Linked DNA regions of Homo sapiens: all the other regions are linked to region 4. Evidence: promoter capture Hi-C in 16 types of primary human blood cells and fetal thymus (Javierre and others, 2016). All regions are on one chromosome and are shown on one strand. Each heading gives the region's core, a stretch centred on a gene start or on the middle of the fragment in contact. The rest is flanking DNA. Distances are from core to core; before and after follow the strand shown.

Region 1 (7,107 bases), core at 667-3,166, 320 kb after region 4:
ATTCTTGTAATCATTTCTGTATCCTTAAGGAATGTTAAATCAAAGATGTAGAAGACATAGTCCTACTCTCTAAGCACTTTCTTTGTAGCACTGGAGATAAAACACAAACAACTAGTTACTACGCTGTGGAAGGCGTAATACATGTTATATGAATATTCTTGAACGTGTTACTTAGCCTTCTGGGATTTAGTTTCTTTATCTGTAAAGAGCAAGCACTGGCTTTGGTAGAAAATCTTTAAGGCTGTTTCTACATGCAAAATCACGTAAGTAGTACATTCACAAGATCTTGAAAAGCTTTAGAGGAGAAACACATTCCTTATAGTGGAGAGATCAAGGGAAGTTTCTTAGTGGAAATGATATTTGAAGAGGGCCTTGTTAGGTTGTTTTGATAGGCATATACTATAATAGTGATAAAACCAGTTATTGAGTGTTTGCTGTGCAGAAGGCAGTATGCGAGGCACTTTAAATACAGATTCCTAGGCTTGGCGCAGTGGCTTATGCCTGTAATCCCAGCACTTTGAGAGGCCGAGGTGGGCGGATCACCTGAGATCGGGAGGTTGAGTCCAGCCTGACCAACATGGAGAAACCCTGTCTCTACTGAAAATACAAAATCAGCCGGGCGTGGTGGCGCATGCCTCTAATTCCAGCTACTTGGGAGGATGAGGCAGGAGAATCGCTTGAACTCGGGAGGTGGAAGTTGCAGTGGGCTGAGATCGCACCATTGCACTCCAGCCTGGGCAACAAGAGCAAAACTCCATCTCAAAAACAAACAAAAAACAAAAACAACAACAACAACAACAACAAAAACCCCAGATTCCTGTGGGGAAGAGGGTGGAGCAGAGTTCTCTCTCAATACCCTGAAGTTATTTGCACAATTCTGTGTATATGTAAGTTAGTACATTTTTATGGGGAAAGTTTCCGTGGCTTTTCTCAGATGCTTAAAGTAGTCATAACCCCAGAAACAAGAACCGCAGTATAAAGAGTAGGAGATATGATTCCTATATTTTGGGAAATGCCCATATGTAGGGGGCGGGGGAGGAGGGATAGTGGTGCTGGTGGAAAGAATGAACAGTTGATAACAAAGAAGATGTTAAAAGCTAAGAATTGGAATCAAAGCCTCTTGGAGGGGAGAGCTTGAAGTAGTGACACACAGTTAATGTGGGGTGGCTAACAGATTGTAACTGGGAGTCAGAATGTCTGGATTTAAATCTTTGACTGGCATCTCCTACCTGTGTAACCTCAGGCAATTTGTTTAACCTCTTTGAGGCTAAGGCTTTTGCTATTTAGATTAATTGTTACATATTTACTCAATTCTTTTTTTTTAATTAAGGGTTTACTATGTGTTAAATGCCTTCATTCATATATTCTTTGATACAGTATGAATTTGTTGAGACCCTATACCTAGTTACTGGGAGAATTTTGGTGAATGAAGCAGAAGAATTCATTCTCTTGCCCTCACTGAAACCTATGAAAGAGACACTATTTTGCAGTGGAGGGAACTGAGGCTTGGGGAAGTTAAGTAATTTCTCAGTCTTGTGATAAAGAAATTGCAGACCCTTCAAACATGGGTCTGACTCCAAAATCTTTTTTTTTTTTTTTTTGATACAAGATCTCCCTCTGTCACCCAGGCTGGGGCATAATCTTGGCTTACTGCAGCCTCAACCTCCAGGGCTCAAGTGATGCTCCCACCTCAGCCTTCCAAATAGTTGGGTCTACAGGCATGTGCCATTATGCCTGGCTAATTTTTTGGATTTTTGGTAGAGACGGGATTTCACCATGTTGCCCAGGCTAGTCTTGAACTCCTGAGCTCACGTGATCCTCCCGCCTTGGCCTCCTAACGTGCTAAGATTATAGGCATGAGCCACCACTCGTCGCCCAAAGTCTTAATCACTAGTGTTTTTGTTTTTTTTTTAATCACTAGTGTTTTTTACTTCAGAATACTGTAGGCATGGCTGACTCTTGTGAGGTTAACAAGAAGAAACTTACTTTATTTCAGGAGTAATTTACATATAAACTCAAAGGTTGAGAGAGGGATGCTGCAGATATTTTGGATAGACTTCTAAATTTATGAAACTACTAAGTATTATTAAATAATGCAGTATTTCAAATCAGTTTTTCATATGATGACACAATCAGATCACTGAGTAGTCACTACACTGTTATTGAAATTGCAGTTTTCATTGTGATCTATATTATTCATATTAAGGACCCTCTAAAATGAGTGCACTTGCTTTTCAAGTAAGATAGTTTTTTTCTCATATATTTTTCATGACTGTCTATTTTTCCACTCCCATAATTTTATCTATTTTGCAAAAGAAATTGATTACTTTTCATATTTAAGTCCCTTTTGAGGGGCTCTCTCTTTTGAGGGTGGTTGTCCTTGTGAGAGAGTTTTCCATTAAGTTCCCATTGAGAAAATTAGTGACTATCATAGCTAAGTATTAATTTACATACAAATTGAGTTAAAGAAAACCATAATACAAAGTTTTGGATCCGAACTTTAGTTTGTTTTCTTTATAGGTGCATTTCTGTTAGCATCATTTAAACTGACTGCATAATGCATTAGGTTTTACTGAGTGCTGGCTATTCTTGTAAGAATCCTCTGGGATTAAAAACAAAAATTATCTAAGGGAAACTTCTAAATATTTTAAGTTTATCCCAATTTAGATAATTTATACACTAGTTGACCTGTTCCATTAATTGAGTTTTCTTCATACTAAGGACAACCTTTGGTTCTTCTTTTTTCTCCTCCTCCTTCTCCCCCTCTTCTTCTTCTACTGTTTTTTTTTTTGAGTTGGGGTCTTGGTCTGTCACCCAGGCTGGAGTTAAAGGCTCACTGCACCCTTGAACTCCTGGACTCAAGCAATCCTCCTGTCTCAGTTTACCGAATAGCTAAAGACTGCACGTGCATGCCACCATGCCTAGCTAATGAAAAAAAGATTTTTTTTTTTTAAGAGGGAGTCTTGCTATATTGCCCATGCTGGTCTTGACCTCCTGGCCTCAAGTGATCCTCATGTCTTGGCCTCCCAAAGCAGTAGGATTATAGGCATGAGCTACTGCACCTGGCCATTGTTTTGCTTTTTAAAAAACTTTCAAGAAATGATTGGGTTGACTCTATTGCCTGAGTCATAGAATTATTTCTACCATTTCTAAGCAAAAGCGTCTTATCAGATGAATTGGCTCGGCATTTTAGTTTTATATAACCAATTGTCATATGTCCAAGAATTTCCATGATATTTACAAGACAAAATCTTTATTTTTATTTGTTTAGACCTTTTAATGTAAGAATATGTACTCTTATTACCAAGTTATACTGTACTGACTAGGTCGATGTTGCTTGGGACATCATTGATAATAAATATTTTTGTAGGACCCCAAACAATACTTAAGTGACTTCTCTATTAGTAAAGCGTTTAGAATAGATATCACTCCAAGTTATAAGAATCTGTGATTTTGTTAAAGTTTAATACGTTTATCAGAGCAAGCATCATGGGAACATACTTGTGCTTTTAGCAAAACATGTTGTGGTTATATATGTGCAAGCTTGAGCCAGAAGAGGAAAATTTTTCTGAATGATGTTACAATGTTGCAGATAAAGATTCAAAAGATAGATTGTTTTGTAGAAACTGACAAGCTGATTCTAAAATTTATATGAAAATAAAAGAACCCAGAATAGCCAAAACAACTTTGAAAAATAACATTGAGGTTGGAGAATTAACATTATCTGATCTCGAGACTTATTATACAGGTTCCACGGTTTGTGCCTGTAATCCTAGCCAGCAGAGAGACTGCTTGAGCCCAGGAGTTCAGGCTGTACAGTGCTATAATTGTGCCTGTGAATAACCATTGCACTTCAGCCTGGGCAACTTAGCAAGACCCTATCTCTTAAAATGAGGGCTTATAAAGTTACAATAATCAATAATATGGCATTGGCATAAAGAGACAAATAGATCAATGGAACAGGATGGATTCAAAAAATGGATCTACACATATGTAGACAATGGATTTTAGACAAAGGTACAAAGGCAATTCAGTGGAGAAATGGTAGTCTTTCCAACAAAGGTTACTGGAAAAAAATAGATATTTACATGCAAAAAATAAACTTTGATTAATACCTTCCACCATACACAAAAATTAAGTTGGCTGTTTCCAGCTGCTAACAACTTTCAGGAATTTGTCATGATGACTGTTCTCATACTGCTAGTAAAGACATACTGGAGATTGGGTAATTTATAAAAGAAAGAGGCTTAACTGACTTACAGTTCCACATGGCTGAAGAGGCCTCACACTCATGGTGGAAGGTGAATGAGGAGAAAAGTCACATCTTATATGGCGGCAGGCAAGAGAACATGTGCAGGGGAACTCCCTTTTATAAAACCATCAGCTCTTGTGAGACTTATTCACTATCATGAGAACAGAATAGGAAAGACCCACCTCCATGATTCAATTACCTCCCACTGGGTCCCTCCCATGACATGTGGGAATTATGGGAGCTACAATTCAAGATGAGATTTGGGTGGGGACACAGCCAAACCATATCATTGACATTTAAGGAGCTTACCAAAAACACACTAAAGATCTCCTTCAAATATTTAGATGAAATAATGTTGGCGGCAACTTGTGTATAAAATTACATACTCATAGAAAAAGTTTTTTGTGGTTTTTTGAGATATTATAATGTATCCAGCAATGCATATTGTAGCTCTGATATTTTCTTTAAAAATTTTTTAGTTACGTATTTATATACTTAGAGTTCTGATACAACTACTACTTAAATCTCATTTATAAATTTTGTTCCTTGTGGCCAAGATTCTGTGGGGAAACAGTATTTTCATTTTGTAAATCTTAGACTTTCTATTGTATTTTTTTGTATTGAAATCTGATTATTTGAATTTTCATGACAAAGTCTCATCATTTTGCTTTTAATTACTCTATAGATTTTTATTTGGCAGATCATCTTATTTTTCATTATTAAAACAAGGACTGACATTTGCTGTCTCAGAATTAGTACATTCAATTATTCTTAAAAAACATTGGAATAACTCCTTATTCAGAAACTCTTTTTGATATTTTCAGTTTCTAAACTTAGCTGATTATCAAGAGGAAGCAAAAAAGAGCCTTGAGTACCCAACTGATATCACAAAGTCTTTGATGTAAATCTCATGCATTACAGGGTCCCAGCCTTATTCTGGCCTTTCCAGCCTTATTTTAAACTCAGACCATGCATACTGGGTTATTGGATTTCTCAGTCTAGAGTAAAATATAAAACCACAAGTGAGAATGGGAATATGGCTTAAAAACAGATGTGTTGCGAACAGCAAGAAGTGACAACTGTAAACTTGATAGCAAGGGAAGAGACACAAGGGGAGAAAAAAAGCATAAAATAGCACATAAAACACTTTTTAAGTAAACAAAGTAATCTATAGCCCCAAATCATTGAAATAATAAAAAGTGTTTAAATTTTCTATCCAATTGGAATTAGATAGAAATTGAGCATCTACTATACGGTTTCCTACATCCTTATAATTAACTTACCTTGCCCTTTCAACAGCTTTTGACATCAATTCTTTCTTGAAATTTACTCTATGTCTTTGGCTTATATGAAAAATATTCCTGGTTTTCCTTCTATCTCTTTGTTTACTCTTTCAGGCTCCCTTGCCAATGCATTATCTTCTATCTGGCCTTTAAGGTTGCATCTGCCCAAGGCTCCTTTTTGGTTGTCATTTCATATTCTTCTTTTGACAATCTCTTCCACACGGTGGCTTCAATTACAACCTGAACATTACAACTCTCACATGTATAGTTCCTGGGCTAAACTCCAGACTCATTTTTAACTGACTGTTTGAAACTCTACTTGGATATTTCAAATGTATTTCAAGCTCAGCATGTCAAAAGCCATATTTATAATCATTTTTTTTCCCTTATCCACAAACCTCAAGCCTCCTCCAAGGTTTATTTGTTGATTCCTTCAGTCATCTACTCATTCATTTATTTATTCATCAATTCTACAAATATGCAACTGGTTTAGTTACTGGAAATACAGCAGGGGTAAGACAGATAATGCTCCTGTTCTCATGGTGCTTATATGCCAGTGGATGAAGACAGACAATAAAAAACAAATACGAAAAACTTCAGACAGTGACCATGTGCACCGAAGAAAAAAACTGGGCAATGTAATAGGATGTGATTAAGAGATGCTACTTACTTTGTCCAGTCAGGGAAACCTCTCTAAAGAGATGATATTTTGGATGAGGAAATGACAGGAAGGAGCCACACATGCAGAGATCAGAGGGACAAACATTCCAGAAGAGGTGCAGCTTATAGAGAGGCCCTGAGGTAGGAAGGGACTTGGTGCTCTTGAGCTGCAGAAGGGAGGCCATTGCAAGCAGAGCGACTGAGTAGGTAGGATGGAGGTAGTGATAGAGATGGCACTGGAGGCAGATGGGTGGCAGACTGTATCGGACTTTGTAGAGTAGGCCAGGGTGAGGAATCTGGATTTTTCTAAATGTACTGGAAAACCAATAAAAGGCTTTAAACAGGGGAGAAGCATGATGTGATGTATGTTTTAAGGAGATCTTTCCAGCTACTGGGTGGAGAATGGATTCAATGGAGCAAGAGTGGAGTCAGAAAGACCAGTTAGGCTACTTTTATGGTAGTACAGGTTAGAGGTGGAGCAGGCTTAGAAGTAGCATGGCCATAGTGGAGGCAGTGAGACGGTGTTTGGAAGAGAGCTGAGGAAAGGAAGCTTTGAACAGGTATATTTTGAGATATCTATTAGACATCTGAGTGGAAATGTCAGTTAAGCATTAGAATTAGATATAGACAAATCTGGAATTCAAGGGAGAGGTGAATGTCTGAGATGTGAATTTAGAGGATATATATATAAAATTTTAAGGCAATGAGATTAGATGAGATCACTTAGAGAGAGAGGATAGAGATGAAAAAGAGGGTAAGAAGGTCTAGAAACAAGTCTGGTGTACTCCAATATTTAGAAGTGTAGAAGAGAAGGGAAGGAACAGTCAGCAAAGAACCATGGAGAAAGAGCAATCAGTGAAGATGGAGAACAATCAGAAGAGTGTTTCAGGGAAGAGGAGGACAATCGTGTCA
Region 2 (6,761 bases), core at 1,500-3,999, 300 kb after region 4:
AGGTGATCTACCCGCCTCAGCCTCCCAAAGTGCTGGGATTACAGGCCACCATGCCTGACCCCAATTCTTTATTTTATTTACAATACATCATTTTCTGACCTCATTTAAAAAATTTTAACTGAAGGATTTCTAGTAGACAGGAAAGTTGCCAAGAAGGTTTAGCTTTAAAAGAAATGCCTTTATAATAAATGGCATAGAATTCCCATTATGCTTTTGTTTTAATTTGTTGTAGGAAAGTATGGGATGTGGGATTTAGTTTCCTCACCGTTGTGGTCATTGTCCTTTTTCATATACTCCAGTTTGTCAGTAAAGCTGTTAAAGCATGACATCCAATACTGCATGCAATCCCTGTGGGCTCAACCTAGCACATAACTCAGAGGGACTACTGCCCCTTCTGTTGTGGACATTAACCTGCAATTAACTCAGTCTTAGATCACATTAATTTTGGGGCCAGGACACTTTATTACTGGTTCATAGTGAACTTGCAGCCCATTGTAACTGCCAAATTTTTTTTCTTTTTTGCACTTTGCCTGGATCCTCTATTAGCATTGATTTAAGAACAGTACTTTGCATGTATTATCATAGTAAATCTCTTTTGCTAAATTTGACTGATGATTCCAGCCTGGTGAGATAATTTTGGGTCCTGATTCTCTTTTCCAATTTGGTTGCAGTTTCTCCTTTGTGGTTATAATAAGCTTACTATCTAACCTCGTCCAAATTCCTGGGGGAAATAATGCTTGTTAGAAGTGGGTCAAGGAGTTTCTGGAATAGCATCTTGTTCTTCCTCACACATTCTTACCCTTCTTTAATTTCTGGATGCAAAGTATATTGTTCCTTGTTGACAAAATGGAAAATGAAATCCTCTTAAGATAGTAAAGTGGCTGTCAACTGTAATGCTCTTAAATCACTTTGCTGCTTAGTGCTCTCACAGCTGATACGCAGTTCCCTCTGTGGGCAGCGGCGTTTTACATCAGATCACCTTCCATTTCAATTTAGCATGCCTGCTCACTCCTGCAAGGGGAGGTTTAGTCCTTGGTAACAAGTCTAGAAAATTCTAAATTACACCAAAGGAAAACACCACCAGGAGATGGAGGATTTTTAATGAAAACATATTTTCACAGTGTGGCATTTCAAGTAGAATAACTAGAATTGTGGAAACTGGGGCAACATTGTGTTATGCAATTTTTCCTGAGAAAGCTAAAAATATGTTTTCAGCAGAGAATTAATGAATTGTAGTGATTTGATGCTAAGCAGTTCTGTTTTAATTAAAATATTTAACTTACTAATAAAATGTCAGCACAATTTGAAGGTAGAGAAGTTCTGTTGGAATTAAATTAATATTCTCCTTTTTAAACACCTGGCTCAGCATGTTAAAATAAAATTTGAAGTACTTCTGTGGGCAGTACTGCTAAGTGATAGCAACCTTCTACCTTGTAGTTCTAGCTAGGTGGGCTCTTGGCTCTTACTCTCTTATGAGTAAGTGAGTTGCTGGATAAGTGTTATCCCTTAGCCATAGAATAGTTGCCATAAGTTTACTGCTTGCATGGCTGCATTGGCTAAATGAACTGCTTAATGGTAGGAAAGCTATGCACCACTGTACTTTAGAAAATTTGATAAATGTGCACTTATAAAAGATAATACATTTCATCATTTCAAAGAGAATATGATTCCCTAAAATATAGTTATTTTAACTTTTATGGTTACACAAAACAATGATAAATCAACTCACTTTTTTCCAATATATTAAGTGCACTGTGTGTTTCCAGCTGTGTGGCAGATATAAGGGCATCAGAGAGGAATATGAGATAGTTTTGGCCCATAGACCAGAAGGGGAGTCAAAGACTTAAATGGTACAATGTGGTCAATAAAATGATAAAGCTATTATCTATATCTTTATACATATCCACACACATGACCATACATATTTCCATTCCCATAACTATAACCATGTCTATTGTGGGAATATGGAGGAGAGATACCTGCCCTAATAGGTGAGAGGCATAGGTAGCATTAAAGGAAAATTTTCTGTTGAAGAGATGCCTAAGTTGAATCTTAATTAGTAGAAGCTAACTGGGCTGTATTAGTCTGTTTTCATGCTGCTGATAAAGACATACCTGAGACTGGGCAATTGACAAAAGATAGAGGTTTAATGGACTCATAGTTCCACATGGCTGGGGAGGCCTGACAATCATGGCAGAAGGTGAAAGTCATGTCTTACGTGGCAGCAGACAAGAGGAGAGAGGTTGTGCAGGGAAACTCCCCTTTATAAAATGATCAATCTCATGAGGCTTCTTCACTATCACGAGAACAGCATGAGAAAGATCCGCCCCCATAATTCAATTATCTCCCACCAGGTCCCTCCCATGACATGTGGGAGTTGTGGGAGCTACAATTCAAGATGAGATTTGGGTGGGGACATAGCCAAACATATCATTCTGCTCCTGGCCCCTCCCAAATCCCATGTCCTCACATTTCAAAACCAATCATGCCTTCCCAACAGTCCCCTAAAGTCTTAACTCATGTCAGCATTAACTCAAAAGTCCACAGTCGAAAGTCTCATCTGAGACAAGGCGAGTCCCTTCTGCCTATGAGCCTGTAAAATCAAAAGTAAGTTAGTTACTTCCTAGATACAATGGGGGTACCCACTGGATAAATACACCCATTCCAAATGGGAGAAATTGACCAAAACAAGGGGATAAAGGCCCCATGCAAGTCTGAAATCCAGTGGGGCAGTCAAATCTTAAAGCTCCAAAATGATCTCCTTTGACTCCATGTCTCACATCCAGGTCACACTGATACAAGTGGGCTCCCATGGCCTTGGGTAGCTCTGCCCCTGTGGCTTTGTAGGGTATAGCCCCCCTCCTGGCTGCTTTCATGGGCTGGCATTGGGTGTCTGTGGCTTTTCCAGGTGCATAGTGCAGGCTGTCGGTGGATCTACCATTCTGGGGTCTGGTGGATGGTGACCCTCTTCTCACAGCTTCACTAGGCAGTGCCCCAGTAAGGGACTCTGTGTGAGGGCTCTGACTCCACATTTCCCTTCCACACTGCCCCAGCAGAGGTTCTCCATGAGGGCCCTGCCCCTGCAGCAAACTTCTGCCTGGGCATCCAGGCATTTCCATACATCCTCTGAAATCTAGACAGAGGTTCCCAAACCTCAATTCTTGACTTCTGTGCCCCCGCAGACTCAATACCACATGGAAGCTACCAGGGCTTGGGACTTGCACCCTCAGAAGCAACAGCCCAAGCCATACCTTGCCCCCTTTTAACCATGACTGGAGTGGCTGGGATATAGGGCACCAAGTCCCTAGGCTGCACAGAGCAGGGGGATCCTGGGCCCACAAAAGCATTTTTTCCTCTTCAGCCTTCACAACTGTGATGGGGGTTGGGGGGCTGCTGTGAAGACCTCTGAAATGCCCTGTAGGCATTTCCCCCACTGGCTTGGCAATTAACATTAGGCTCCTTGTTATTTATGTAAATCTCTACAGCCTGCTTGAATTTCTTCTCAGAAAACGTGTTTTTCTTTTCTTTCTTTCTTTCTTTTTTTTTTTTTTTTGAGACGGAGTCTCGCACTGTCACCCAGGCTGGAGTGCAGTGGTGTGATCTCTGCTCACTGCAAGCTCCACCTCCCAGGTTCACACCATTCTCCTGCTTCAGCCTCCTGAGTAGCTGGGACTACAGGTGCCCGCCACCACACTCGGCTAATTTTTTGTATTTTTCAGTAGAGACGGAGTTTCACCATGTTAGCTAGGATGGACTCGATCTCCTGACCTTGTGATCTGCCTGCCTCAGCCTCCCAAAGTGCTGGGATTACAGGCGTGAGCCACTATGCCCGGCCCAGTGTTTTTCTTTTCTATTGCATCATCAGGCTGCAAATTTTCCAAACTTTTATGCTCTGTTTCCCTTTTAAAACTGAATGCTTTTAATAGCACCCAAGTCATCTCTTGAATGCTTTACTGCTTAGAAATTTCTCCCGCCAGGTACCCTAAATCATCTCTCTCAAGTTCAAAGTTCCACAGATCTGTAGGACAGGGACAAAATGCTGCCAGTCTCTGCTAAAACATAGCAAGAGTCACCTTTACTCCAGTTCCCAACAAGTTCCTCACCTCCATCTGAGACCACCTCAGCCTGGATTTCATTGTCTGCATTTTGGTCAAAGCCATTCAACAAGTCGCTAGGAAGTTCCAAACTTTCCCACATTTTCCTGTCTTCTGAGCCCTCCAAACTGTTCTAACCTCTGCCTGTTACCCAGTTCCAAAGTTGCTCCCACATCTTCAGGTATCTTTATAGCAGTGCCGCAGTCCACCGGTACCAATTTACTGTATTAGTCTGTCTTCATTTTGCTGATAAAGACATACCCAAGGCTGGGTAATTGACAAAAGAAAGAGGTTTAATGGACTCATAGTTCCACGTGGCTGGGGAGGCCTGACAACTGTGGCAGAAGGTGAAAGGCACGTCTCACATGGCAGCAAACAAGAGAAGACAGCATGTTCAGGGAAACTCCCCTTTATAAAACCATCAGATCTCATGAGACTTATTCACTATCACAAGAACAGCATGGGAAAGACCTGTCCTCATGATTCAATGATCTCCCACTGGGTCCCTGCCATGACATGTGGCAATTGTGGGAGTTACAATTCAAGATGAGATTTGGGTGGGGATGCAGCCAAACCATATCACAGGTTATGATGTGTGTGTATGTGTTTGTACTTGTATTTTTATGTGTATGTGTATGTATGTGGAGGCATCTGTGTGTTTGGGAGAACAAGGAAAAGGGCTGTGATGTTCCTGAAAGTGAGTTGGAACAGAAGCTTGGAAGTGAGAAACACTGTGAGGTTGCTGGAGTATATAGTGTGTCTGTGTGAGTTTAGGTTGGAGTGGGATACACAAGGAGCTCGTGGACAAAGGGAATCCATCAAAGGTGTTGGAGCAAGGGGATGGTATAGTCAGCTTTACATGCTGAGTGGATTGCTGTGATTACAATGGGCAGGATAGATGGAACATGGCAAGATTTGGGGTGTGACTGTGGAGTAAGCTGTCCAGATGAGAGGTGATAGAACTACCCTCACTTGGCCTTGGTGATAGTGATTTGGGGAGGGGGAGATCAATAAATTTTTAGAAAGTAATGTCAGATAGATATACCTATCTTATATATCTTTTGTTACATTCGTTTCTAAGTACCACATAGTTTCTGCTAATGTTGCAAATCATATTTCTAAAAAATTATGGTTTTGAATTAATTCTCATGGTTGAATATTATGTAGCAGTAAAACTATTGAACTGCAGCCATGTGCATCAACAGTAATAAGTCTAGGAGCATAATCTTGAGTGAATAAAGCAAGTCCCAAATGAATGACTTCATTTGTATAAAGCTTAAAAACAAAACTGAAAAATGTGTTGGTTAGAGATGCACAGGTATGTAATAAACCAATATGGAAAAGGAGATAATAAAATAAAATTAAAAATCATGGTTAATTCTCATGGAGGAGAAGGTGAGAGAATGAATACAGAAGGGGGAAGTATATGGGTGAATGGAATGGTATTGGACAGTTTTGATTCTTATATTAGTGGTGGGTTCATGGGTGCTGGTTTTATTATTATTTTTCATTATATATATATGTCAAATGTAGTATTTTGTATTATTTGATATATTAAAAAGATAATAAGGGAAAAACAGATACATAAGTAGAAATAAGGGCAAGATATCCTCAGGTTTCTAGCTTGGGTTACGGGATCAGTGATGATATCAAATAAATAGAGACAACTAGAGGTTTATTCAGGAACAATGATGAGCTAAGGTTCTTGAAGCACATCTAAACAGATGGATATGCAAGCCTGCAGCTTGTGGGGGAAAATCTAGGCTACATATGCAGATTTGTAAGTCATAAATATACAGTTGTCTTTCAAACCAAAAAATGGATAAAATTGCCCCGGAAGAATTAAAAACAACAACAACAAAAGTGAAAAGAAAGTAATCCTGGGAAGCACCAGCATTGAAGTGTCAGGAGACAGAGAAGTCCATAAAGAGAAGGAAGGGGTCAAAAGATAGGAGGAAAAGTGAGTGGCATCAGGGAGGAAGCCAAGGAGGTAAAGTGTTATGAAGGGAGGGGTGATTATCAGTGTTAGATACACCAGGCCATTTACTACGGTGAGGTCTGGAGTTAGGAGGTTTGTGCTGACCTTAGCGAACTCTGTTTCAGAGCTGTGGGGACAGAAGCCAACTGAAGTGGGGAGAGGGGTCTGGGGAGCCAGACAGCGGGTACTGTGGAGGGGGTAGAGGAATCTTTGTAGAAATATGAGTGTTCTGGGGTGAATAGTGCCCTCCCAAAATTCAAGTTCTTTCTCCTGGAACCTCAGTATAGGACTCTATTCAAAAATAGGATCTTTGCAAATGTAATTGGGTTAAAATCAGGAATGAAGACTGGATTAGGATGGGTTCAAATCCAATGACTGCTGAACTTATAAAATGAGAAAAATTTGGACACAGACACACTGAGAGAACACAATGTGATAAGAGGCAGAGACTGGAGTAGTGCATCCATAAGCCAAGCCATTGCTGACAACCACCTGAGGCTAAGAATGACATGGAACAGATGCTTCCCTAGAGCCTTTAGATGGCCCTGCCAACACTTCAACTTAGGCTTCTAGGCTATAGGACTGTGAAATAATAAAATTTATGTTGTTTAAAGTTACCCCATTTGGCATACTTTGTTATAGCAGCCCCAGGAAACAAATATAATGAATGATAACTAGTGTGTGATTAG
Region 3 (7,358 bases), core at 2,453-4,952, 340 kb after region 4:
TAACAAGCAGGTAGAGGCTCCAGATGACAAGTAAGGACCATCACCAGGACTCCCTTTACAGCGTCAGTGGCTTGGAAGAGTCAGATTATAAACTGGGACTGGAATCTAGTTATAAAAATGGTGCTGAACCATTCCTGTCTTACAGCCTTCTTTCCCATAGGAGATTGAGCCATGGTTGTCTGATTGGGACAGAGAGAGTCATACCATCAGTGAATTCTAGTGAGTTCAGCCCAGTCACATTCCTGAGGAGTCCACACGTAGTCCACGTAGAAAAAACAAACTCAGCTTCTCCTACTATATTCTCAAACACGCTTCTGACTCCAGATGTGTGGTGATTTCTCCCTACTGCAAACAAGCAATTAATTCTTTTCTGCAGCAGACATCAGCTAGGTATCCTCTGATTAAATTTTATTCTGATACTATTTACCTGGAAATAGCATCAGATCACACTGATTGAGGGTTCAGTCCCACAAGATGACCCCCACTTCTGATGCCAGTTACAAGATCCAGGTTGTTTACCCTGTGCTCTGACTGACTGGCTATAAATTGGGGTTTCTACAACCTTCTTCTTGTGTTCTATTAATTTGCTAGAGGGGCTCACAAAACTCGGAGAAACAGTTCTTTGTTATAAAGAATATTACAAGGGATACAGATGAAGAGATGCATAGGGCAATGTATGAGAAGCGATGTGGAGCTTCCATGTTCTCTCCGGGCACACCATCCTCTAGAAACCTCTGCATCTCCAGCTATCCAGAAGCTCTCCAAACCCAGCCCATTTTGGATTTTTATGGAAGCTTCATTATGTAGGCATGATTGATTAAATCATTAGCTATTGGTGATCAACTTAAACTTCAGCCCCTCATCCCTCCTAGGAGGTCATATCTGTTCTTTCTAGTGACCAGTCCACTTGCTGAAGCTATCCAGGAGCTGCCAGCCACTTACCAACCCATTAGCCTGCAAAAAGATACTTATCACTTTGAAGATTCCAAGGACTTTAGTAGTTGTGTGCTGGGGAATAGGGAAGAAGACTAAAAATGCGTACCGCAATATGACAATCCAGATGAAGCTTCATGGAGGACTGCAAATGATACCATTCAGTCCCTGATTTCTCTTTCGTCCTACCTTGGTTCAGCCTCTTTGAAATTGTTTCTTTTTTAAGATAAATTCTTTTCAAGGGTGACAAGATGGCTATAGATATCCTGTCTCACATCCTCACAACTTCCAATCTAGTAGAAGAAAAGCCATTGGAGAATATTTTATTTGTGTGTATTATGAATTTTATAATAAATGTAAACTAAAAAAATTGGCCAACTAATAAATCTTGTAAAGTGATTTCTTAAAATTGGTTTAACATATTCATGCTATATTTTACCCCTGTTGTGCACATAGGGAATATTAATGGGCAGTAACTACATCTCATTTCTCAGGCTTTTCAGAAGAAGATTCATTTATGACCTAAAATAAACTCATGTGATCACAGATCATTAGGTGAGAGCAATGAATGTTTGTGGAGGGAGTCATCAGTTTGCCAGAAAGGAATCAATATCCACAAAGTCATTCCCAGTATATTCGATGTGTTGTTATAGCGTAAGGAAAATATAGCATTGACTGTCAGTCAGGAGTATGTCATTTTATGCCACAAATCTACTCCAGAAAGTTAAATGAGATTAAAAAAAAACTATCATAGGCTTGGCTTATTTACAAACTCATTTTTATTAGGTGCCACTTAGAAATTGTCATGTAAATGTTCATGAACTTACCTAAAATAAATCTCCTTTTTTGTGGATCATTAGAACTGCTGCTCCACCATTTACAGACCTACTTGCCCCCAGTTTTTATATCCTATATATGGTGGTCCCAAGAGGAGACTTTTGAAAGTTTTGGTAGGAGTCATTACTGATGAGATAGAATTTATGTGTGCTATTTTGCCATTCTTTTTGTGTATGTCCTATGTCTTTTTGTTTCTCTATTTCTCTGCTACTATCTCCTTTTGTGTTAAATATTTATTTTCTAGTATATAATTTTAATTCCTTGGTCATTTATTTTACTTTTTTGTTATTTTCTTAGTGGTTGCCATAGGATTACAATTAACATCTTAATTTATAGCAATCTAGTTTGGATCAATACCAACTTAATTTCAATAATACACAGCATTTTGCTCCTATATAGCTCCACTCCCTCCCCTTCCTATGTGCTATTATTGTCATACAAATCACAACTTTTACATTACATGCCTATCAACACAGAAATATAATTATAGCTTTATATGATTATCTTTTAAATCAGATATGAGAAAAAAGAGTTACAAACAAAAATACATTTATATTGTCTATTATATTTAACTATGTAGTTAACTTTACTGGTGTTCTTCAGTTTTTCCTGGGTATTTGAGTTACTGTCCAGTGTCCTTTTTTTTCTGCCTGAAAGGCTCTCATTAGTATTTCTTGTAGGCTATGTCTGTCAGTAAGGGATTCTCTTGGTTTTTGTTTATCTTGGAATGTCTTAATTTCTCCTTAAATTTTGAAGGATAATTTTTACTTAAAGTTTTTTTCCTTTCATCAATTTGAGTATGTCATCCCACTACCATCTGACCTCCATGGTCAAAATTCAGCTGTCAATCTCATTGAGGATCCTTTGAACATGATTTTCTTCTCTCCTGCTGCTTTCAAGATTCTTTTTTTTTTTTTTTTGTCTTTTGGCAGTTTGATTATGATATCTGTAGGTACAGATCTTGTTGAGTTTATCCTACTTGGAGTTTGTTGACCTTCTTGGATGTGTAGATTAATGCTTTTTAAGTCAAATTTGATAAATTTTCAGCCATTATTTCTTCAACTATTCTTTCTTCCTCTTTCTCTCCTCTTCTCTTTCTGAGAATCACATTATGTGTATGTTGGTATGTATGTTGGTAAGATGTTTTCACCAATCTCTGAGACTTTGTTCATGTTTCTTCATTCTTTCTTTTGTCTTTCTTTTCCTTAGACTGGGAGGAACAATCTCAATTGATCTGTCTTCAAGTTTGCTGATTCTTTCTGCCTGTTCAGATCTGCTATTAAATCTCTATAGTGAATTTTTTTATTTCAGTTATTTTATCTCCAGATTTTCTATTTGGTTCTTTTAAAAAAAAATTTCTGTCTCCTTACTGATATTCTGTATTTGGTGAAACATTATTCTCATACATTCTTTTTGTTCTTTAGATTATTATTTTTTTTTAGTTTTTAAAACATATTTAAAATAGATGATTTAAAGCCTTTGTCTAGTAATTTCAATTTCTGGGATTGTTCAGGGACAGTTTCTATTGACTGTATATTTTCTTTTGGGTGGGCCATACTTTCTTTGCATATCTTAAAATTTTTTTGTTGAAAATTAGATATTTAAATAATGTGATGTGGCAGCACTAGAAACCAGATTCCTCTCTCCCTTCCAGTTTTTGTTGCTGTTTATTGTTGCTGCAGGTGCTATTTATTTGGTTACTAATTTTCATGAACCAATTCTGCAAGTCTATATTCTTTGTCGTGTGTGGCCACTTAAGTCTTTGCTCAGCATTTTTTTTTAGTGGTCAGGACAGGGATCTTCTTAAATACTAGAGTCAGTAAATCGCTAAACATTTACCAAAGCTCTCAATGTGCATTTTGGGGTATGGCTTCAATGCTCAGGCAGACAGTTTACAACTCTGCCTTAATCCTAACTTCCTGCTTATGCAGAGCTCAAGGTGAGCTAGAGGTGAGAATTTAGGATCTTCTGAGGTCTTTGCTGTGTTTGCACAAAACCCCAAACATGCATGTGGCTTTCTAGATTCTAGGTTGTACATATATACAAAATTTTCAATGGCCTTTGTGGCCATCTCATTCCCAAGTTTTCCTTTTAAGTTTTTTGGTTAGTTTTTTCTTTCTTTCTTTTTTTTTTTGCCCCAATTGTTATTGCTCCCTGAGACCTGTGATGTTGAACAATTGCCACTGATTATTTTTGACAAATTTTTTCTGGGGAAAGAGGCTTTTCACACTGAATAAGCTCTGAGTCAGGTCAAGTAAAGAAAAGCCCTGTGAATGGGGGTTTTTAGGGAACTGCTAGACAGGTTAAATAGTTACAATTGTCTGAAAATTGTATTTTTGATGCTCTCCAACCCCATTCTGTCCCCTCCAGGGGTTTCTAGGGTTCTGATTTTCATCATGACTGTGGTGTTTTTGTTTTCAAGGCTACTGTAGAGATGAGAGGGGGATGGGCATAGGGCAAGTTCAAACACCATACGGCTTGTTGTTCTTACTGAAATCCAGGTTTTTTTTTTTTTTTTTTTTTTTTTGAGATGGAGTTTTTGCTCTTGCTGCCCAGGCTGGAGTGCAATGGCACAGTCTCGGCTCACTGCAACCTCTGCCTCCTGGGTTCAAGTGATTCTCCTGCCTCATCCTCCCAAGTAGCTGGGATTACAGGCATGTGCCACCACATCCAGCTAATTTTTTGCATTTAGTGGAGACAGGGTTTCACCATGTTGCTCAGGCTGGTCTTGTACTCCTGACCTCAAGAGATCCACCCACCTCGACCTCCCAAAGTGTTGGGATTACAGGTGTGAGCCACTGTGCCTAGCTAGAAATCCAGGTGTTTTTTTTTTTGAATATTTACTCCTCAGATTGTTGTAAGCCTTTGGTTAATTTCCAGAGTTCTGAAACAGTTGGCTTTAACAATTTTTGCCAGTGTTCTTTCTTACTGCCTTTATGGAGAAGTGGCCTTTTCAGAGGTCCTTATTCCAGCATTCCCGTTTATATTCCTCATTCTGGTCCTATACAACTGTAATAACAACAAACTTTTCATATAACAGTCATTTGAGTTGGGATGGTGAGGGCAATCTGGTTATGACATCTGTTACCCTGTTGGTCTTCAGGAATGATTTGGTTGACTGTGCAAGTGGCCTGTTCTCACCACTTAATGTACATCTTTCCTGATATTTTGCCCTTGGCTAAGCAGGATGACCTATTTAGATAGTAGAGGACCATTCTTCATTCTTTATTTATCTGAATTAGAATCTTATCCACCAAGGTACATAATTATCGTCTTCTGAGAGGTAGTGTATTTTAGGCAGTAGCTACTTTGTACTAAATTAAATCTTTTTGACAATAGACAGGCAATTTTCACCTAAACGGGATTTGAGTATATTGGAATATATGCTTGGGAAGACAGCTCATCTTGATAAGTTAATTATAAATTATTTGCATAATAATATTCAGATTGAAAACTTCTATAAAATAAGTATTATTAAATGTTGGGATGTATTTACATATATTTTATATTAAGTTTCACATGAAATTATTCTTTCAGTATATGTAGAATGTCACAAATTTGTGGCTAGACAAAGTTCAAGCTCATCTTTTGCATCATTTGTGAAAAATAGTTTTACTGAGTAGAAGAGGGTTTTTAGCATAATTTCAAGGGGAATGGCTATATAATTTGAAATGTCAAACTCCTAGCCATCAGAATTATATGATGTTTTGAATATATTTTTCTCTGTATAGTGGTCTTTACTTTTCAAAGTGCTCTTACTTTTGCTTTAGTTTCACCAGAATACTAGAGGTTGGTATGGGTGAGATCCTATTTTGGGGTAAGGAAGTTTTTCTAGGTAATATATACAGTGGTTGAATAACATACCTGTAAACACACCATGTGCTTATGGTATAGCCCCTCCTCTCCTCCTCCAGTACTTTTTCCACTTCATCAGACCATTCCTCTGCTAGGTGCCTTATTAAATGATGTAGATAAAAATAAACACAGGGCTTGGAAGCAGATCCATCACATCCTGATTGTGTGTCCTTGGGCAAGTTATTTAACTTCTTTGAACCTTATTACTTAATCTCTAAAATGAAATGAAATTATCATAACCCTTACCTCAAAAGTTTGCTATAATAATTAAGATAAATTATTATAAAGATAATAATTGGCTCGGCATGGTGGCTCACACCTATAATTCTAACACTTTGGGAGGCCAAGGTGGGCAGATTGCTTGAGCCCAGGAGTTCAAGACCAGCCTGGGCAACATGGTGAAACCCCGTCTGTTCAAAAAATATAAAAAAAATTAGTGGGATGTGGTGGCGCATGCCTGTAGTCCCACCTACTTGGGAGACTAAAGTGGGAGGATTACCTGAGCCCAGGAGGTTGAGGCTGTGGTGAGCTGTGATCACGCTACTGCACTCCAGCCTAGGTGACAGAGTGAGACCTTGTCTCAAAAAAAAAAAGATAACACTTAGTCGAAATAGCTAACCAAATGCTAGCAGTTATTTTCCTCTTGAAAATAATTAAAGGAAACTTTACCAGGCTTTGTTATTTTATTTGTTGTATAGAACTTATAAATTTAATAAGCTTTTCTTTAAAGCAATCAGTTATATTTCATAATTCAAACTACTGCCCACACCCATATGATTTAATGAGGCTTGATAATACTAAAAAATAGAATTGTAATAGAATTATTTTGAATATTTTAGTAATGTGTTATGCAATAAGCATAATTTCAGATTCATCTGCAAATGGCTAGATTAACTATAGGTGAAAGAAGGTCTTAGGTAGGTTGGGGCTGGGGTGGGATAGAAGGAGGATTATCCTGAGCTTGGCTTGATTTGCTTCAGGACTATGCTAGCTGCTGCTCATGGATTTAGAGTAAAGGAGCAGACTAAGATTCCTAGCACAGTCTCGCCATAGAGAGAGCGTTCAGTGCTTTCTCAAAGGAGCACTTCCTCCAGCTATTTTGTTTATTTATTTATTGGCACCCCAGATGGGACAGGAACCATTCAGCTATTTACAGTCGTGCTCATATACACTAACAATTCAGTCACTCCCTTTGTTAGTTTATTAATTTGTTGCTTAAAAGACATTTATCAGGCATCTGTTGAGCCAGCAAAATGCTCCTGGTCAGTAGTGTAAGTTCAATGTGCTGTATCACCTGGTAGTACACTAGACTAGCAGGTGCTCAGTACGTGTTTCTGATTATCTTCTTGTTTCTCCACCATTCTAAAAAATAGGCTATTGGTTTACATGGCATCTTGTGTGTGAAGAGTCACAGAAGTCCCTGGATGATCAGCTTTATGAAATGAACATTTTCATGTTTTAGGGGATGTGATTTGGCCTGCAGCATATATTAATTCAAGTGAAATGAGTTGTGTAATAACACCATGTGCATATGTTATAATCCAAAGTATGCCAGTCAGGTGGCATCACCCCAGTTTTCTATAGGTGGAATTGAGCTAGAGAGGTCATGGAAGTTGATCACTGTCAAGCAGCTGGTAAGAGGCTGATGCATGATAAAAGTGCCTGTCTCAGATGCCAATAGTGTAATTCTTTCCATTATATCATCTATCTCTGTCTGTTATAAGCACTTTATT
Region 4 (7,393 bases), core at 927-3,426:
AAATTATTCACAGCAGGAATTTTCTTTGTTATGTTATGGACAAGAAATGAAGATGCAGAGGGTTCAATAACTTGCCCAAGGTCATCCCCAGGCTCTGGCTCTTAGGTTTTCTAACCCCATAGCTATGAAGAGCTTGCCTTTCACGTAGAAGGCTCTTTTTAGGAAATATTTTCTCATAATTTTAAAGCTTTTCAAGCCTATAGAAAAACTGAAAGAATAGTACAATAAGCTCCCCATATACTTAGATTCACCAGTTTGTAATTCACCAGTTATTAATATTTTGCCACAGTTGTTTTACCTTTCTTTCTCTCATTATCTATATATTTGCAGTCTTTCTTCAACCATTTGAGAGCAAATTGCAGACATCCTGACGCCTCACCCTGGGTACTTAAGCATGTATCTCCATAGAACAAAGATTTTATCCTTCGCAACCACAGTATCATTATCTCACCAAGAAACTGAACATTAATACAGTAACATAATAATGAGCAGTCAAATTGCCTCAGTTATCCCAAACCTGTTCCTCATAGCCTTTTTCCCCCTTGGATGAAGACACCAATCAAGACTCATGCACTACATTTGGTTAACACATTTCTTTAGTCTCTTTAATATAGAACAAGCCCTTCCCCACCCCTTTTTTCTTTCTTCCTTGGCACTGACATCTTTGACCAGTCCAAACTAATTGTCCAACAACTGGATTTGCTTGCTTATTTCCTCATGATTAGAACACTTCCTCAACAGGGAATATTTGGGAGCCCACTTTCACAAAAAGTGACACAAATACCATCTTCCCAGCTAATAAGAAGACCTCCCCCAACACCTCACCCCCGCACCCCCCCCACACACACACAGACTCACCTTTAGGCAAGAAGGGACCAGGATGAACAGAAGAGCCTCTCAGAAAAAGCCATCTCAAGAATTTGTCTGATGACTTAAAAGCAGAGGTTCTCAGATTGGACTGAGTAAGAAAACTTTCAGAACAACATATTAAGAAAACTGACAGAGAGGTGCCATCTCTTTATTTTGCCAGGGAAGAACATTTAAAAATAAACAAAAACTTACCACTTATTATCATTTCCCAAATCTATTGTAATTTCATAAATAAAGGTCATTTTAACATCAAAAGGTACAAATAACAATCTGAGCAAAGGTTCAAAAAAGGATAGTTTTTCAAAAGGGACAATTGACAACTTTCTACTGCTCATATGCAGACACATCTCACCCGGTCCTTTTATTTCTCCTTTTGCTATGGACTGTGAAAACTGACATGGAGGGGCACAAGAACTCTGAACCACTAATCTAAATGAAGCTCTCAGGAGCTAAATTACTAGTAATACTTGAAGGTGATCGCTGTGCTTTCCTTAATTCATCTGTCTTGTGCTAGCTGTGCAGTCTCTAGGAGAAAGGGCAGGCAGGGAGGCCTGGAGCGCCTGTAGCAGGTCACTACGAGCCATATCACCTGCTGAACTCAGAGTCCCCCCACTCTGCATTCTTACCTTCTCTGGAGCCTGGTGGCACAGCCCGAGCAGTGTCTCGGGTCTGGGGACACTGGCCCCTTCTCAGCCTTGCTACCTCCTGGCTGCTGCTTTCCAACCTCCTGGCCAGATTCTCATTTTCTTGCCTTAGTCGCTTCTTCTCTTCCTCCAGAACTGACTTGTCTCGGAGGAGGTTGCTGTAGGCAGTCTCCAACTCTCTGGTTTGGGTTTCCAGCTGGTCCCGCTCCCGCCTCAGGGTGCCCAGCTCCCTCTGCAGCCCCTCCTGGGTCTCCTGGGGCCTGGCAGCCTGGTCCAAGGTCAATTGGTGGAGGAGGCTCTCCAGGGAGCTGAGTCGAGCTTTGGTGGCCTCCAGGTCTAAGCGTTGGGTGCTGCTGTCTCTCTGTAAGTTATGGATGACTGACATGGCCTGGCTCTGCTCTGGGCAGCTGGATTCATTGGGACTGGCCACACTGAAGGTATACTGGCATCGGCCACTCTGGTCATTGGCCTTCCTGAGCTGAGCTGTCCTGGCCCCCACATCCCACACCAGGCAGGCCAGAAGCAGCAGCTGGACAGCTGGCATCTCAGGCCCAAAGCTGCAGCAACGTGCACAGAAGAACCTCATTGCAGAGGCTTGGTGAGGCTTCCTCTGGAAAGCTCTGCTGTGCTGAGAGGTGCCTGGATGGGTGGCCTTGCTGGCTCATGCCCGAGCTCCAGAGAGGTTTATATATACTGGGGAGCCAGCCCTTCATGGGGGAAGACAGAGGTGGCCACGTGAGGCTGGGTGGGGCTGTGCACAGGGGGGTTGCCTTCACGCTGCCAGCAAGATTCTTAGAAAATAACCTTCCAGAAGTCTGTTTGGAGTTTCTTTTTAAAAAGAACATCCCAATTTATGCACCCATACCCCAATAATAGTTCCTATATCTCCACCTGGTTTTACACACACACACACACACACACACACGTACACACACTTACACCAGGACTACTGGTGTGCTGATTTCAACAAGGATATATTTCTAGTTTATATTTCCATTCACTCTGCAAACTCATTGAGAACCTGCACTGTGCCAGGCACTATGCTAGGAACTGGAGATCCAAACAAGTCCTTTAAGACGTAGCAGGGACAGAGAAAAATAACAGCCAGCCAGAACACAAGGACAGCACCCTACCAGGCTCCAGGGAGAGCATTCCTATAGAAGCGGCAGATTTCCCCCCTCACCCCTAGCTTTAAAACAACTGTGTATCTTTGGGAGAACTTTCTAATTTCAGTCTTGCATCTCAGGCACCAATGTCAATGTTAGCCTCTAAATCAGTTCTTACTCTGTGTGTGTGCATGCCAAGAACCTCATTGGTGAAATCTGGGGAACTCTTCTCAGAAAGATGTTTTCAAATATATAAAATATAGATTACAAAGGAAACAAATGATAATGAAATATGATTATCAAAATATCAAAATTTTAAACATGTTTTATTAATATGTTAAAAACAAGATCCAGCAGGAGGTCTAATTTCAAAGTAGTTTTGAGTATAAATATTTCACTTACAACGTATCTGCAACAACTGTAATATAGTATAAAATGTCTGTGATTTCTATTGGTAATGACAAAATCACAGGTACTGTTATTACCACTTTGAGTTTATGGCTCTATTCGCAATGGAATAAAATGTTAAATTTAGTTAGAAGGTGGTAAAAACAAAAATGTAATTTTTTCCTCATTCAAATTCACAGGCTTTCTGGACTGTAGGTTAATAATCCCTGCTTTACATTAATAAACCCAAAGAGAAAAAACAAAAAGCAAATGGCAATAGCCAATAAATATACCAAAACTGTCAGAAGTAACTTTAAGCCACTTGAAATAATGATTGCCTTTGAGCAACTTTATGTTGTTAATACCAACAACAGTGTCAATACTTGTGAAGTAAATATTTCCAAACTGCCCTGGCAGACTCACCTCCAGAGTGGAGAAACACAGTTTGCTCTAAAGATTCTATTCTTATTTGATTGGTTCTGCAGTTAAGCCTGAACTTGAGACATTTACAAATGGGTGTTTGTTTACAGCTGACCAAAGGGTACTAGTCTCATTTTCTGAATCAGATAGTAAACATCGCTGAAATGATTTTTCAAAAAACCAATCATATAGTCAGCAAGACCTAGGCTTGAATCTGTTTGGCTTTACTCTTAGGAATGTTTTCTTCCTGTTAAAAGAAACGGGATTGCCCTTGTGCTGCTAACTCCACAGAGAAAAAGAGTTCCTAATAAGGAGAAACTAAGTAATCTTACAGCCTCAGTTACTACCTTGTGACTTGCTCAGAATTACTCAGCTTGTAAAGGAAAAATATAGTATTAGAAATCAGGTCTCCCGACTTCCCTTGAACTGATTTTTTCCCCCCACAATATAGCCCTGCCTCCTAGAACCCAGGATCACGTGGACTATAATCCCTGTGGTCAATTCCCACTGCCCTTGAATGAATCTGTCTTTCTTGCTCATACACTATCCCTCTCTTTTTCTTCTCCTCCCCTGCGCTGCAGGTCACTCCGTGCTGTCAGCAGTCACTGCTGAGCTGCGTGGGGTGCTGGTCAGGGTGAAAAGTTTAACAATCTCTGGCATTTTCCACTTGCTCTGGCCCAGTTTTTGAATGCCAGGCAAAAGCTACCACCAGTTAGTCTCTGCATTCTTTTTGGTTATTGGCAAATGCCATTGTCTATGCTTAGGGAAGGAAAATGTGGCTGTTGGGTTCATTGAGCTTTCCTGAAGCATTGTGGCTCTCGGTCCTGGAGTCTGACGTGATCAGTGAGGACTGATGGAGCACCCAGCTTCTGCCTGCCTTCCTGTCCCCCTCCACCTCCCCTGTGGCTCAGCTGCTCCAGCTCTGCCTCCTTCCCCTCTCAACATCCCCCCTCACAGAGAATCACAGGGAAGTGTTCACAGAACACGAGAGCTGCAAGGGTCTTTATAGCAGAGAAGACTATGGCCCAGGGAAGGAGAGACACTTGCCCACGGTCGCACAGCCAACCAATGGCAGAACCAGAAAGAAAACCGAGTCTCCTGATTCCAAGGTTTTCGACCGTCTTGCATAAGCCAAGTCCACCACAGGGCTGAGTAGTTGCCCAGAAGACATGAAAGAAAAGACTCCAGTCACTTCTTCCGTGAATTAACGGCCTAGGAAATGAGCTCGCTTCCTATATTCCCATTAAATAAAGGCCTTCGTGAAGGAAAACCCATGCACACCCTGGAATTTTAACAGCTGACTTTATGAAACTGCATCCCTTCATGAAATAGACTTCTTCTCCTCCAAGCAGAGAAAAGATAAAAAGGCTCACAGGAAGCAACGGAAAACTCCCAGCCCCGTGAACAACACTGAACATCTGGGCAGCTTCAGCCTTGCCCTTTTCACCTTCCTGCCTTTCAGCACCCGCTCAGCCCCAGCGTCCCCACTCCCTGCAGTCCCCACCTCCTGGAATTCTCCTGGACGTGGAGGCCCCTTTCCCTCTGAGGAAACACTGTCCCCTCCAGATTCTCCGTTAGACTAGTTTCCCTCTCCATTTCCTTTCTGGAGCCTGGAGCCAAGGAGTCTCCAGCTCAGATGCACCAGGACGATTCACGGGAAGCGAGGCAGGCCAGCTGCAGCGCTGTGACTGATGGAGGAGGAGGCTTGGAAGACTCGGGCTTGGGGGCCTCCGGGCACGATGGAGGCAGCAGGGGGCGCTAGGGAGGTGGCCTTGTTAAGGGATGCTGCGCACAATTCTTCAAGATGGTGTTTATTTCCTTTCTTTCAGCACTGGGTTTAAGTTGGCTGGCTATTAATTTTCTTCTGCACGTCTTCCATGAGAAACTGTCACCTCCACGAAGGTAGGGCAGTGACTGCTTTGCTCACCATTTTGTCTCTGGTGTCTGGCAGATATAAGTACTCAATAAATTGTCAATGAATGCCTGGATGAATGAACGAGTCACACAGAAATAGAAAGCAACAGGTCCCTAGAGAGTGATAACAAAACAACCAGTGGCACGGGCTGGCAGGTTGCTCAGGACACCCAGGACCCCGGGTGCTTGCAGGGCTCCCCCAGCTGGAGAGGAAACCTCTGCCGGGGGCTTCAAGGAGTCTCTGGGGTATGCCCTCCTCCCCTATACACACACACAGATGGCCCCAAATGGAACTAGTTTATGTATACTCTTATTTCAGTAACGATGTGGAGGCTTACCACAAAAGCATGGTGAATAAAATGGTAACTTAGCCTGAAAATGAGGATGAGGGAAGAAAGTGATGAGGACCAGTGGTCTGGGACTAGGCAGGCAGCTCATGGCACCATTCCCCATCCCAAGAATCCCTGAAATTATCACAGCTTTTGTCTGTTTCCCTGTTGGTTTAGTAAACCATTCAAGTTATTCCTTATTAAACACTGACCCTTGGCCGGGCGCGGTGACTCATGCCTGTAATCCCAGCACTTTAGGAGGCTGAGGTGGGTGGATCACCTGAGGTCAGGAGTTCAAGACCAGCCGGGCTAATATGGTGAAACCCCATCTCTACTAACAATACAAAAATTAGCCGGGCGTGCGCCTGTAGTCCCAGCTACGCGGGAGGCTGAGACAGGAGAATTGCTTGAACCTGGGAGGCAGAGGTTGCAGTGAGCTCAGGTGTAGAGCATACAGGTAGGTGTAAGACACAGACCCTCACCCTCACGGAGCTTCTGGCTGTAACATCGTGATGCAGAAGTCTAGAGTGGGGAGACTTCCTGTGGAGCGGGATGGGCTGCACAGGGGAGGTGGCATTTGTAATGGGACCTACTGAGATGACACGTTAACAATGGTTGAGGCACTTGGGTTGTAGATGTGGTTGTAGGTCAGACACATCGGGCCTGTGTGTGAGGGCTATGACAGATCATTCTGAAAAAGTTAGGATGGGGACACAGTGATTTCTAATGATTTCTGACCTATCCGGAGCTGGGACACGTTATCCTTGTATGCCTGACTTTATAAAATTGGGACCCATGTCTAAACTGATTATGCATCGCATATTTGTTTTATACTTAAAATGGTTAAAATTCATGATCTTTCAAGAGTTTCTTAAGATTCCTTAAGAAAACTGGCCTTCCTAAAGGCAAATGCCTCAGGGTCCCTGCTGAGGGGCACTGCTGCTTTGAAGGCTCACAATGTTCTGGTTGCCTTTTAACCATGTCTTTTGTTTTGCTCTCAGTTTTTCATATTTCCCTTGAAAGTCCAGGCTTAGCCCAGTCAATTTTTGTGTTCCCTGGTATAGACGGGGAGGTGTTGCGAACATGGTCAACTGCCTAATCACTGTTATGAAAGCTTTCCCAGTCCCCATTTTCCTCCTGCATTTGCGGAATTTTGATTTTGCTGTTATTGTTATGTCCTTTGCTAACATGACCTTCCTGAACTTGCCTCCCCAGAGTGATGCCATCTGGTTTTTAAAATAATAATCCACTTTGGGATCTGATCAGATCATGCTTTTGACGTTTTTCCCATTTTCCCATCAAGCTCACATGGAGGTCTCTTCCCAAGGAACAAATACTTAATTACCAATTTGGAAACATCTTTTTTCTGAGCTGTTTTCCTTATTCATTGATTTTGGTCCTCATCATTTTTTCCTGAAATTAAAAACAAAGGGAAAAGTTTATTTTTCATCATTATTTGCTCTCCTGGCATTTTTCCTTGGGCAAGTGCCCATCTCATTCCTGTTTCTTAGCTCCTGTTTGATGGATTTACCATATTGGATGTGATGTTTCCTGAAGAATAGCTTCTGTCAGGAGCAACATCTGTCACTAAAATAAGAGCAGACACAGCCTGGACACTTGGCTAACGTGGATACTCCTTCTTCCTGATTCTTTATCATCCTGCCAAAGACATACATCCGAATGGAGGCTATACAGTTTATAGGACTTTCACATTGGTTATCTC

The links. Contacts are between HindIII fragments. The CHiCAGO score rates a contact against its expected background, and 5 or more counts as called.
Region 1: a contact is called between a fragment that was not itself captured here and the fragment with the promoter of MYOC in region 4, in 4 of 17 cell types (activated CD4 T cells, total CD4 T cells, naive CD4 T cells and 1 more). The highest score is 8.1, in activated CD4 T cells.
Region 2: a contact is called between a fragment that was not itself captured here and the fragment with the promoter of MYOC in region 4, in 1 of 17 cell types (activated CD4 T cells). The highest score is 6.6, in activated CD4 T cells.
Region 3: a fragment that was not itself captured here is called in contact with the fragment with the promoter of MYOC in region 4 in 5 of 17 cell types (activated CD4 T cells, naive CD4 T cells, M2 macrophages and 2 more); the score reaches 8.3 in activated CD4 T cells.

The regions. Positions count from the first base shown.
Region 1 is chr1:171,972,089-171,979,195 of GRCh38, forward strand. All of the region lies in intron 2 of DNM3 (dynamin 3), which reads left to right. Among named protein-coding and RNA genes, the nearest start is that of DNM3-IT1, 110 kb to the left of the region's middle. The HindIII fragment of the contact is 3,249 bases long and covers 293-3,541 here.
Region 2 is chr1:171,953,663-171,960,423 of GRCh38, forward strand. The region is part of intron 2 of DNM3 (dynamin 3); the gene reads left to right. Among named protein-coding and RNA genes, the nearest start is that of DNM3-IT1, 93 kb to the left of the region's middle. The HindIII fragment of the contact is 4,113 bases long and covers 694-4,806 here.
Region 3 is chr1:171,990,825-171,998,182 of GRCh38, forward strand. All of the region lies in intron 4 of DNM3 (dynamin 3), which reads left to right. Among named protein-coding and RNA genes, the nearest start is that of DNM3-IT1, 130 kb to the left of the region's middle. The HindIII fragment of the contact is 5,276 bases long and covers 1,065-6,340 here.
Region 4 is chr1:171,650,512-171,657,904 of GRCh38, forward strand. It overlaps MYOC (myocilin), which reads right to left and starts at 2,177. Exons shown (of 3, transcript NM_000261.2): 1 at 1,497-2,177. The coding sequence starts at 2,100. The HindIII fragment of the contact is 6,597 bases long and covers 186-6,782 here.